3 separate regions of the Homo sapiens genome follow, and regions 2 and 3 are each linked to region 1. Evidence: promoter capture Hi-C in 16 types of primary human blood cells and fetal thymus (Javierre and others, 2016). All regions are on one chromosome and are shown on one strand. The core of a region is centred on a gene start or on the middle of the fragment in contact, and the rest is flanking DNA. Distances in the headings are between cores, read along the strand shown.

The links. The method cuts DNA at HindIII sites, captures the fragments that hold promoters and counts their contacts. A CHiCAGO score of 5 or more calls a contact.
Region 2: a contact is called between a fragment that was not itself captured here and the fragment with the promoter of PLXNB2 in region 1, in 2 of 17 cell types (naive CD8 T cells and total B cells). The highest score is 6.8, in naive CD8 T cells.
Region 3: a contact is called between a fragment that was not itself captured here and the fragment with the promoter of PLXNB2 in region 1, in 9 of 17 cell types (monocytes, naive CD8 T cells, M0 macrophages and 6 more). The highest score is 8.8, in monocytes.

Annotation. Positions count from the first base shown.
Region 1 is chr22:50,306,396-50,310,467 of GRCh38, reverse strand. PLXNB2 (plexin B2) reads left to right here and starts at 2,822. Exons shown (of 37, transcript NM_012401.4): 1 at 2,822-2,915. It overlaps DENND6B (DENN domain containing 6B), which reads left to right. Exons shown (of 20, transcript NM_001001794.4): 20 at 1-1,438. RefSeq lists silencers at 1,751-1,800, 2,501-2,550, 2,711-2,910, 2,921-2,990, 3,511-3,661 and an enhancer at 3,969-4,072. The HindIII fragment of the contact is 14,640 bases long and covers 1,352-4,072 here.
Region 2 is chr22:50,628,636-50,632,707 of GRCh38, reverse strand. LOC124905149 (a long non-coding RNA gene) reads right to left here and starts at 1,214. Exons shown (of 2, transcript XR_007068161.1): 1 at 1-1,214. The HindIII fragment of the contact is 623 bases long and covers 2,493-3,115 here.
Region 3 is chr22:50,575,482-50,579,553 of GRCh38, reverse strand. It overlaps CPT1B (carnitine palmitoyltransferase 1B), which reads left to right and starts at 1,127. Exons shown (of 20, transcript NM_152246.3): 1 at 1,127-1,168; 2 at 1,620-1,779; 3 at 2,091-2,230; 4 at 2,520-2,697; 5 at 2,917-3,018; 6 at 3,219-3,356; 7 at 3,442-3,519. The coding sequence starts at 1,639. It overlaps CHKB (choline kinase beta), which reads left to right. Exons shown (of 11, transcript NM_005198.5): 10 at 47-128; 11 at 299-591. The coding sequence ends at 373. It overlaps CHKB-CPT1B (CHKB-CPT1B readthrough (NMD candidate)), which reads left to right. Exons shown (of 30, transcript NR_027928.2): 10 at 47-128; 11 at 299-518; 12 at 1,620-1,779; 13 at 2,091-2,230; 14 at 2,520-2,697; 15 at 2,917-3,018; 16 at 3,219-3,356; 17 at 3,442-3,519. RefSeq lists silencers at 1,096-1,215, 1,556-1,635, 3,120-3,414 and an enhancer at 3,120-3,414. The HindIII fragment of the contact is 2,404 bases long and covers 581-2,984 here.

The DNA.
Region 1 (4,072 bases), core at 1,573-4,072:
GTAGTTCTCAGAACTTGGTACATGTCAACTTGTCCAGCCCAACTGCAGCCCAGGACAGCCTGTCCCTGTTCCCATTCTACAGACAAGACGCGGAGGCAGCCGGGAGGGTGACCAAGGGGAGCTGTTAAGCCCCAGATGTCTGGTGCAGGGTCCAAGGATGTGACCACATGAAACAGAACACATAGAGGCCGAGGTGGCAAACCTGTTCTGTGGCAGGGACAAGCCGGGGACCCGAGGGTGAGAAAGGTCCTGGCCCCAAATGCAGCTTGGGCCTCCTGACTGTAGCACAGGGGGACCAGCCTCCCCACTGAGGGCTTGGTCTCTAGAGGGTCTGCAGAGATGCTGGCACCTCTTGTGTGGGCAGCTTGAATGCTGACCTCCATAAGATGGGGCCTGGGGGGCCAGTACAGGCCCTGCCATCAGCTGCCCTCCACCAGGGCCCTCTGCAAAAGCCTTATGCTGGTGACCAGCCCCCTGAGGACCACCACTTCAAGGTGTCGGGGCAGCTTGGGAAGACAACCCACCTCTCTCACAACTGTGACCCCACTTTGGGGAGCGCACCCCAAGGACCGTGGCAGCATGTGCTTCCCCACAGCACAGTCTCGCCTCACTTGGCTTTCTGAGGGCTGCCGCACAGCACAGAGGGCTGCAGACCCACATGGCTGCAGGGGAGGGGCTTCAGGCTGGTCTCTGAGGAGCCCCCAGGGACCCTGGCCACTGTGTATCCAGAAATGCACAAGCAGATTTCCCTGGAGGGCTCTGGTGAGGCCACATAGTGGCGTGTGAAGGGGGAACTTGAGGGGGGAACCGGGCTGGGTGGCCAGCATTGCCCTGGGCAGAAGCTAAGGCTAAGGTGGGGGGTAGTGTCCCAGCCCCTCTTCCTCAGGGCCTGTCCCCACCTGTGCAGAAGAGGCCTGGGGTGGAATGTGGCCTGGGGTGGATGGGTGGGGGCTGGGCGTGGAGACCTGCCAGCTCCATCTGTCCGGATGCCTCTTGTGGCCCCCCCAGTGTCAGGGCCGCTCTGAGTTGGCTGAGCCTCTGTCCAGGGCTAGGCCATGGCCCTCCCCGCCCCACGCACTCCAGGCCAGGGGCAGTCAGTGAAGAGGCAGGAAGGTCCAGACAGCTCTACCCCTGGCCAGAGTGCCAGCCCCCGCAGGCAAGAGGGCTTGCTGGGCAGAACTTAGTTGGCGAGGGTGAGGACTGCTGTGGTCACAGGCCTCCCGAAGGACAGGGACCACAGAACCTAGAGGGTGGGAAGGGCTGGGAGCAGGTCTGGAGTGGGGCTCGGGGCTGAGGGTGCACACAGGGGGCCTGCTCAGGGACAGGAAGGACAGCTGCTCACCCTCAAGCTTCCTGCTGGCTATTTAAAGACTCCCTTTTAGTCTAGAACAGTGGCCTTCCCACAGTTTTGGTATTAAAATGTCCTTTTGTGACTGGACCTTGTCTTTTCCTTTTTTGATAAAAAGTTGGCAACCTTGTCAGAACCTGGTAATTTTGGGGTCCTCTGCAGTGAAGGGTAGGGTTGCCGTGATGTGGATTGTGGTTCAAGGCCCAAGGGAAGATTTTGGACAGGAACAAGGCCTGGCTGCTTGAGGGTGGGAGAAGGCAGAGACTGAAAGAACTAAGTCAGGCTGGGGGAGTTTGTCAGGATGTGGCGGGGCGGATCCCGGGTGGGGGAAGCAGAGGAGGAGGGGATGCCTGGCTGGGGACAGGAGGAAGCTGACCAGCTGCAAGGACGGGGCAGGTCTGGGTGGAAGGCGGGCCCCAGGGAGGGGTGACCCAGGGTGGGGGCAAGAGCTTGGGGAATGCTTCTGTCTCCTGCTCAGCACATCCAGTTCCGGGAGGGCAGTGGAGGCGTGCTCCAAGGTCTGGCCCTGCAGACGGTTCACCACCTCTTCTCAAGCCCAGGGGACACTAGGAGCACTGAGGCCAGGACTTGGGACCTGGGATGCCAGAAGTGGGGCCAGCTCTGTCCCAGAAACCAGAACCCCCAGAAAGAGGTCTCGGCCCGCCCACCTCCTGGCCCTGAAGGACCAGGTGGGGTCCCGGGTGCAGCATCCCAAGGTGCTGCTGGAGGCCAGGGATGTGCTGGGAGGCCATCTCCAGGTCCCAGTTTACCCTGGGAGGTTGAGGGCCTGAGACCCCTGGGAAAGGGCCAAAGCCCAGCAGCCCCCACCCCTGAAGGCCGCAGGGGAGCGACTGGTATGCTTCCAGTCTGGGAGTGAGAGTCTGGTGCCCACACATCTCAAGACTGGCAGGGACCCTCACGTTCCTCTGGCCAGGCGAGAGTGCACTCATAATGCCCTCCCCTGGTACCAAGCCATGGCCTCCCCTCAGACCTGCGGGGTTCCTGTGGGGGTGCTCAGGCCATGGGGCCTCTGTGGGCGCTCGTGCTTCCTGGACGGCGGCATGGTGGGCAGGGTGCTGCCCTGGCTGAACCTGGGTCTGAACTGGGGTGCCTGAACCTACCAGACAATGCTGTGGCCGCTGGGCAGGGGAGAAGTGGGGGGCGCGGGGAGCGCAGGCCCAGCCCCTCCCCTCCCGTCCCCTCCCCTCCTCTCCGGTTCTCTTCTGCCCTCTCCTCCCCGCTCCTGCTCCCCCTCCCCTCCCCCTCCCCCTCTTCCCCCTCCCCCTCTCCCCCTCCCCCTCTTCCCCCTCCCCCTCTCCCCCCTCCCCCTCTCCCCCCTCCCCCTCCCCCTCCTTCTCCCCCTCCGCTTTCCCTCTCCCTCTCCCCCCTTCTCCTGTTCTCCCCGCCCTCCCCTCCTCTCCCTCGTCGGGGGCGGGGCCGGCAGCTCCCGCGCGCTCCGGCCCCTCCTCGGCCACACAAAGGCCCCGTCTCCATGGCAGCAGCGCGGGCCAGAGCGCAGCGCCGAGCGCGGCCCGGGCGCCATCGAGCCTTGGCGGCGGACGTGCAGGTACCGAGCTCGGGGGACTGGGCTGCGGGGGACGTCTCGCTGGGCGTGGGGGGGGCTTCGCCGTCAGCGCCGCTCCGCCCGGGCCTGCCGCGCTGGGGCCCGGGGACCTGCGGCGGCTGCGGCTCCGCGGAGGGCTCCCGGGGCCTGGGCCCCGTCCGTCGGTCCATCCGGCGAGGCCCGGGCCGCTGCCGCCCCACTCCCTTCCCGGTGTTGACTCGGGGGACGGGCCCGGCGGCGGGGGCTGCGCGTCCCTCCGGAGCCGCGTCGGATCCCTCCTCCGCGCCTGCCTCTCACTCTTCAGCCGCCGAGCTCCGTGCGCCGAGCGGAGATGGTCTCGCGGTGCGGGCGCTCCGGGCCGGCCCCAGGCTCAGCGGCACAGGAGCCTGGATTTGCCCGAGCTCCCGGGGGCCGTCCCCGCACCCCCTGGGGCCTGCTTGGCGCGGGGGGACCAGGGCGGAGAGCACCCGCACCTGGCGAGACCCCACTGCCTGGGCCTCCTCGCGGTTCCCAGAGTGGCGTCTGGGTGGACACCCCGAGACACAGAAAGTCTCAGAAGCGGGGGCGCGAGCCCTGCCTGTCCCCTGCTGACCCTGCCCCTCCGCACCCTGCTCCTGCAGGAAGCCCCTGCCCTGCCAGCGCCCCTGGTCGGGCTATTCGGCAGATCTGGGGAGCCCGCCTCCCCCTGTCATCTGGGGGTCTCAGAGCCCGGACGCCCTGGGGCTTCCTGCCAGGCCCTTGATTTCTCTTCCCGAAGCTCCCTGGGAAAGGAAGAAAGGGGTCCGTCTGCCCACTGTGGGCTGTGGCAGAGTCAGGACAGGGGGTGAGGGTGAGGGTGAGGGTGAGGGTGAGGGTGAGGGTGAGGGTGAGGGTGGGCCCCAAACCCGGCAGATCCCGGCGGCCTGGAGGGCTCCCTGTGCCCCACCTTCCCTGGACCCCCCCGCCCTCCCCACTTAATGTCTGACTTCGGCCCTTGCTTGGAGGTTCGGCGCAGCCTGTGAGGCTTTAAAGTTGAGCTTCCTCAGGAGCCCTTTGCGGGTGGGAGAGCGAGGCTGCCGGGAAGTGGGGGCTCTCAGCCTGCCCCATGCCCAGATGACCCTGGCACGGAACAGCTGAACAGCTGGTGGGAGGAGCCCTCCCTTTCCTGTCCAGAGGTGAGG
Region 2 (4,072 bases), core at 1,555-4,054, 320 kb before region 1:
CAAGACTCCGTCTCCAAAAAAAAAACAAAAGAAAGAATTCAAAAGTCACACAAATATCAAACCAAAAGGGACTGGTTCCTCTATTGGGAATTGAACCCAGGCCATGGTAGTGAAAGTACAGAATTTTAAGTAGTTTCCAAGATGCAGCAGTCTTCATTGTGAATCCTGCAGGGATCCAAAGCAATGGTTTGCGCGCACAAAGGATTTTAACTTGTTACAGGTCAGATTTTTGCTCTTTAATTTTGTGAAGAGGATTTCTAAGGCTAGCCACAACATTATTATGTGTCTTTCCTTTAATCTCCCCACAAATACAAATAAGGCAATTGTTTAGAATGAGAGACCTCTAAAATCTTTTTTTTTTTTTAATTTAGGGATCTTTCTAATGTAAAGGATTCATCTTTTGGCTATTGACAATCAGAATTTCCAATGATGTATTTATTCCAATAGCAACTCAATCCAAGAAGCCCCTTCATGGAAAGCCCAAAAGATTATTTTCCAGGTTTAGAGAGGGCATAGAAGAGGAGGTTCCAATGATGCCCCCAAAATTCACTCCCAGGAATAGGCAAAGACAGCAAAAGACTCTTGTTCCCAGAGACAGTTAAGGAACGTGTTTGTACATACAGTGCCTCCAGTAACACACAATCTGTCAGGGGCTGCCAGTCACAGACCCATTAACCTGTAACACAGGGTAGGCCTGTTGGGATTGGGCTTTCTGAGGACTGACCAGGCAACAAACATTGGGATGACAAAAGCCCCTTATGGATGGGCCTGAGGAGAGCAAAAACCACCTGGCGACCATCAAACATCAAACAGGCCCTCCGAGGCAAAACTCCTTATCTGGGGAAAATCAAAAGTAACTAAACCTCCCTATTATCTAAAGCAGGCATCTGGTTCCAGATTTCTTCCCCCAAAAAACGTGTAAGTAACTATAATTTCTATGTGTCTCCAGAATACCATGACGAAACTCACTGTACAACCGTCGCTGACATTAAGGCACCAAAATTACTATAAATGTAATCATTTATCATGACTTACGTGGCTAATATGGTCCAAATTACTGTTAAGCCTCCACTTTAAGGCCTATAAATGCCCTTAAGGAGAAATCCACCCGGCGTACTCAGTCCTCTTGCTGAGGCACCTCATTGCACTCTTCTGCAGCATTCTAATAAACTTTCTTTCTTTTCTTTTTTTTTCTTTTTTTTTTTTTTGAGATGGAGTTTCACTCTTGTTGCCCAGGCTGGAGTGCAATGGTATGATCTCAGCTCACCACAACCTCCATCTCCCAGGTTCAAGCGATTCTCCTGCCTCAGCCTCCCAAGTAGCTGGGAATACAGGCTCCCGACACCATGCCCAGCTAATTTTTTGTATTTTTAGTAGAGATGGGGTTTCATCATGTTGGCCAGGCTGGTCTTGAACTCCTGCCCTCAGGTGATCCACCTGCCTCAGCATCCCAAAGTGCTGGGATTACAGGCGTGAGCCACCGTGCCCGGCAAACTTTCTTTTTTCTTTTTTTTTTTGAGACAGTCTTGCTCTGTCTCAGCTCACTGCAACCTCCGCCTCCCAGGTTCAAGCAATTCTCCTGCCTCAGCCTTCCAAGTAGCTGGGATTACAGCCACGCACCACCACACCTGGCTAAGTTTTATACTTTCAGTAGAGACAGGGTTTCTCCATGTTGGCCAGGCTGGTCTCAAACTCCTGACCTCAGGTGATCCACCCACCTTGGACTTCCAAAGTGCTGAGAGTACAAGCATGAGCCACTATGCCCGGCCAAACTTTCCTTTTTCAAACCTATTGTCGGTAAACTCTTTTTACCAACCCGCAAGTTGACCACCACTCCCAGTGCCGGGGCTCTGACAGCTCGCCTGGCAGGGACTTCTTAAGACAAACTAAAAGCTTGACACATTCAGAACAAAAACGGTGCTGCTTAAAATATTAAATGTCTTGGGTTCCCAACCATTTTCAGACTGACCACAAAATGTGACCTGCGAGTCACTACCTCGGATTGGCAGAGGCCAAGAGAGTGCTCCTGAGGTAGGAGGTGGGACTTAGTTGACCCAGTTGAGGATTGGCTAAAACAGGGTTGGGGCAATAGCAGCTTTCAGTCAGATATGCCCGCCACTGTGCCATGTCAGTTTACCATTGCCATGGCAACACCCAGGAGTTGCCACCCCTTTCCATGGCAATGACCCAATGATGACTACTCCTTCCCTAGAAACTTCTGCATAAACCATCCTTTAATCTACATGCAATCAAAAGTGCGTATAAATGTGACTGCAAAACTGCCCTGAGCTGCTACTCTCAGCCTACGGGGTGGCCCTGCTCTGCAGGAGCAGTCACAGAGCTCTAACGCCACCTGTTCAATAAAGCTGTTTTCTTCTACCTCTGGCTTGTCTTTGAATTCTTTCCTGGGCAAAGCCAAAACCCTCACTGGCTAAGCTCCACTCTGGGGTCTGCCTGGCCTGCATCATTCCCACTCGCTCACAACTCAAGCTTTCAAGGACATCAAAAGAGAGGAGAATCTCATCCAGTTTTCAGTTCAGGGACCCACAGCAAAGTCTGTCTAACTAGACGCATCCGATCAGAGCTGCAAAACTGACTAGCCTGCAGGACGGCCCCAAGACGGGGTTTACAGGGGTTTTAGGCCTGTGTTCTACCCTCTTTATGACAGAAAAACACAGAAAGACAAGAATGAAAGACGACTATTTCTGGGGAAAAAAAGCAATCAAACAATATGAATACAAAACTAATCACATAAATACATTTCTCTCATTAAAACTTTGAAGAGGAAAACAAGGTAAACAGACATTTTTACCGTCGGCTTGACAAGATTCCAGAGAGGCCGGGAGCCTGGCTGCTAAGACCTTCTTACCCTTCTTTCTGCCAGCTTGTCGGCTCCTGGGTTCCCCTGACGGAGGCTCCCAGGAGAGTGACTTTAGTTATCCTACCGACTGCACCAAAACTGTAGGAGCCTAGAGAAAAACTTTTCTGCATTCTGAGTTCACAGAAAATCAACTGACAAAAGCCAGGTTAGTAAGAAAAAAGGCATACAGATTTATTCATGCACACAGGGAGAACCAGAGTGATGACCCCAACCTCCCAATGGGGTTCGGAAGCTTATATACCATCTTGAGGTTACAGAAAGAACATGGGCTCAAAGTATGGCCACAGTTTATGGTGGAAAATCAGGTGACCAGTGGCAAGACCGGTTACAGGAGGGAGAGCAGAGGAGGCCTGGCTAGCAAAGGTGGCCTTGTTCTACAGATGAAACCTCACAGGTAGCAGCCCTGAGAGAGAACAGATGGTGAATGTTCCCTTCAGGCCTTTAAAGGCGTCAGACTGTTACTCTTCCCAGATCAGGCAAGGAGGGCCTCAGAGGAGGCCTGGCCGCATCAGTGTAGATTCTCTCCACAGATGCAAATCTCCCCCACAAAAGACAGCTTTTCAGCTATTCTTCTATTTCCAGTCCTTCTGAGTAACTGTCTTGAACCGTGTCAAGGAAATATATTTGGAGGTGACATATTGTGTTTTCCTTCAAGATCAAAAAGGTTAAGTCCAAGGCTGCCCAACGAGGGAGCGAGGACCCAATCACGTTGTCCTCAGATGAGTTTTTCCCCAGCAGCGTAACCCTGCAACAGGCCAGACTGGACCCCAGACACACATTCCACACCACACCACGCCTCCACCACCACACGCACACAACAGACACACCCTAAACACCAGACACACACACACACCTCAACCACCGCAAACACACATACGCCACACCTCTAACACCACACACACCCAACACCACACACATACGTGCCTCAAACACTACACACACCTCAACCACCATACACCTCAACCACACACACCCCTCAAACACCAAACACACCCCTCAACCACACACACACACCCCTCAAACACCACACACCCACCTCAAACACCACACACACATATCCCTCAAACACTACAAAAACACACACACACACCTCAAACACCACACATGCACACACACCTGAAACACCACACACCTGCCTCAAACACTCCACACACACCACACACAGACACGTACACAGCCCCCCGCACCCAG
Region 3 (4,072 bases), core at 533-3,032, 270 kb before region 1:
CTAGACATGCTCTTGAATGCCCCTCCTTTTCCTGCCCTCCCCCCAGGTATGCTCTGGCATCCCATTTCTTCTGGGGTCTGTGGTCCATCCTCCAGGCATCCATGTCCACCATAGAATTTGGTTACTTGGTAAGTGACCCTGGGGATGGGAATGCTAGCTGGGGGGCTGGGGAGCAGCAGCAGCCACACTCTTCCAGGAGGCCTGGGGAGTCCCGGGTGGCTGTGGGCAGCCTGAGGTGGATGTAGAATGCTGGTCCCACGTCTTCTCACCACTGTGTGGGGTGGGTTTCCTTCCCTAGGACTATGCCCAGTCTCGGTTCCAGTTCTACTTCCAGCAGAAGGGGCAGCTGACCAGTGTCCACTCCTCATCCTGACTCCACCCTCCCACTCCTTGGATTTCTCCTGGAGCCTCCAGGGCAGGACCTTGGAGGGAGGAACAACGAGCAGAAGGCCCTGGCGACTGGGCTGAGCCCCCAAGTGAAACTGAGGTTCAGGAGACCGGCCTGTTCCTGAGTTTGAGTAGGTCCCCATGGCTGGCAGGCCAGAGCCCCGTGCTGTGTATGTAACACAATAAACAAGCTTCTTCTTCCCACCCTGTCCTGGCCCTGCTGAGCAGCAGCAGAAAGTACCAAACCGAGCAGTACACACAAAGGGACTCTTCAGTGCTCTGGGATTGAAAGTGGTTAGCGTTCATGCTGCCAGTTGGGGTCCCCCATCCCTCCCCAGTCCCCTGGCTGCAGCTTAGAATAATAAATACTAGGACTTGGGGAGGAGGAGAGTGATGGGGGTATGAAGACGACCCTGAGGTGGGGATGCCGCCCGGAGCACCAGCGATCCCAGAACAGGCAGCAGCTGACACATCGGTGACCTTTTCCCTACATTTGGCTATTTTTAGCTCTAAAGCCACCATCCTCACGAGACTCTGGGGCCCCCCAGGCTCCCAGACCTTTGAGCAACCTTCACCGCACAGAAACCCAGCCGCGCCCTGCAATTCCCACCGCGGAAGGTGGGTGGGTTCTGGTTCTCGCCCCACGTTTTTCCCCGACCCCGATTTGGGAGTAGGTGTCAGGTTCCTGGTGAGGGCGGGGCGGGGGTGGCTAGGCCTGAAGGACGTGGGGACACGGGCCAGAGTGGCTGGCCCCACGCACGGACAGGAGTGAACCCGAGCTGTGAGTAGGGGCCGGCACAGGGCGGCCCGCGGGGGTCTGGGCCCTCAGCCCTGCACAGGGGCGAGGACGGCGCTGGGGCCCGCGCGCTCGGGTGGGGAAGGGCGGGCTCCCGAACCCTGCCTCTGTCCAGGCCGGCTCCACTTCCAGGGGCGCCTCTCTCCCCTGCCCGCGCCCTCGCTGACGCCCCCCAACTCCAGGCTGCCCTTCGCCGTCCTTGGGGCTCCTGGAGCTTTCAAGGCCCAAATCCCCTGCACCACAGTGGCTGTGCCCACCCGGAAGGCTGGCGCGAGGATTTGGCGGCGGTTGGCCTGGCGGGGGGCGCGGGCCGGGGGCAGCCGCTAGTCGCGGGGTGGGGGGCGCGAGGGGTCGCGGACTGGCTGGGGGCGTCTCGGCGCGGCTGGCGGCGGGGCCGGCCTAAGCGCGCCCGCGCACCCATCTGCCCCCGTCCTAGGTGCCGACCAACCCCCAGGATGGCGGAAGCTCACCAGGCCGTGGCCTTCCAGTTCACGGTGACCCCAGACGGGGTCGACTTCCGGCTCAGTCGGGAGGCCCTGAAACACGTCTACCTGTCTGGGATCAACTCCTGGAAGAAACGCCTGATCCGCATCAAGGTGCGCACAGGTGCTTCTCCCAGAGCGTAGGCAGAGGCCGGCTGTCAGCTGTTAAGCGCTTTGTTAGGGTCCCTCACTGCCTCCTTGGCTGGCACTTCTGCCCGGTACAGGTTGTGGAAGTACAGACACCAGAGGGGTGCACAGGATGTGGTCGGACACAGGGAGCTGTGGGTGTGGCGGAGGAAGGAGCACAGCAGGGCATCAGGAGAGAAAGCCTTCCAGGCCAAGACCAGGAGCCAGTTCCCAAGACTTCACAGGCAGGCTAACCTCCCGCCTTCCGGCTCCATAAGGGCGCCTGTTTCTGCCCACAGAATGGCATCCTCAGGGGCGTGTACCCTGGCAGCCCCACCAGCTGGCTGGTCGTCATCATGGCAACAGTGGGTTCCTCCTTCTGCAACGTGGACATCTCCTTGGGGCTGGTCAGTTGCATCCAGAGATGCCTCCCTCAGGGGTAAGGAGTGAAACTGGAAGGGCACAGGTGCCACCAGGGAGGGCTGGGCCCAGCTCCCAAGGCTGAGGTTCCTGAGCTGGGCAGATACAGGACAGCAGCCATTGGCAGTCACGGGGCAGCCCTCCCCTATGACAACCATTGTCTTAGCCCTACATCCGCTCATTTGATGCAGTCAGACATGAGTGTGCCCAGGGAGGTTCTTCCCCTTGGTGTCTCCCCTGAGACAGTTCACAGCCACCCGAGGCTGGCCTCAAGAGGACCCCCTGCAGCCCTTGCCCCTCTCCAATAGGTGTGGCCCCTACCAGACCCCGCAGACCCGGGCACTTCTCAGCATGGCCATCTTCTCCACGGGCGTCTGGGTGACGGGCATCTTCTTCTTCCGCCAAACCCTGAAGCTGCTTCTCTGCTACCATGGGTGGATGTTTGAGATGCATGGCAAGACCAGCAACTTGACCAGGATCTGGGCTGTGAGCAGCAGCCAGTGGAGGGGTTCAGGCACCTGGGTTGAGACTCTTTGGACTCCTTTGGGGTTCTGAGCTAGACGGGAGAGGCAGACAGGGCACTGGTGCCTGGTGTGTGGTTTGTCCTGGAGGGGCTGGGATGGCTCTGAGGGTCTCAGGGAGTTGCTGGTTGGTTTCCATTTTTTCCACTGGCTCCCACCCCAGCACTCTGCTCTGTACCCCCAGATGTGTATCCGCCTTCTATCCAGCCGGCACCCTATGCTCTACAGCTTCCAGACATCTCTGCCCAAGCTTCCTGTGCCCAGGGTGTCAGCCACAATTCAGCGGGTGAGGGCCTCGCTTGGGCATCCCAGTGGGCAGGGGAGGTTGGATTCAGGAGATGTTTCCAAATATAAGGTTCTGTGCAAAGAGTGGCCTTAAGGGCTTGAGAATAATGGGGCTGGGTGAGGAGGGAGAGGTGGGAAGAGGATTAAGATAGAGGCAGCCCTTGCCATCTGGCCCCACGGTGATGATAACTGGCTGGACAGTACCTAGAGTCTGTGCGCCCCTTGTTGGATGATGAGGAATATTACCGCATGGAGTTGCTGGCCAAAGAATTCCAGGACAAGACTGCCCCCAGGCTGCAGAAATACCTGGTGCTCAAGTCATGGTGGGCAAGTAACTATGTAAGTTCCTGCCCCTGGGCTCACTGTCACCTGCCATGTGTCCTGGCTGCACCCGCCCCAGCTCTAACCTTCCACCTCCCCACAGGTGAGTGACTGGTGGGAAGAGTACATCTACCTTCGAGGCAGGAGCCCTCTCATGGTGAACAGCAACTATTATGTCATGGTATGAACTAGAGCCCCCAGGTCCCCGCACGTGCTCAGCTCTGTCCCAGCTCCAAGGCAAGGGATCTGGAGGACAGCCCAGAGCTCTAGTAGCAGCTTCCGTGGGCAAGTGGGGGTTATGGAGTGAGGCCTGAGGGAAAGGGAAGAGAGAGAGGAGATCCTAGAAGAGTCCAGAAGCAGCTTAGGGGCAATGGGGATCCTAAGGATGAGGAGAGTGGAGACCGCCAGCCTGCCACCGCTTCTCAGAGTCCCGGGGTCACTGCCCCTGCCCAGCTCGGGCTCTGTCACCTCTTTCCTTGGTTTCCTCACTGGCCTCCTGGCCATGGGTTCCCAGCTGTCCTGACACCATAACCAGGGAATTGTCTAGAACGTGTCTTGCTTTGTGTCCCTCTGCAGAGCCGGACAGCAGAATGGAGGCCAGGCTGCTGCTTTTAGAGCTCAGGAAGTCAGTCTGCCTCTGCCCCATGTAACTGGCCCTTCTGAGTCTCTGGGTCTCCCAGCCACCTGGGCTGTATGGCATGCCTCTTCTCTCCTTTCCCACGGTCCAAAGCACA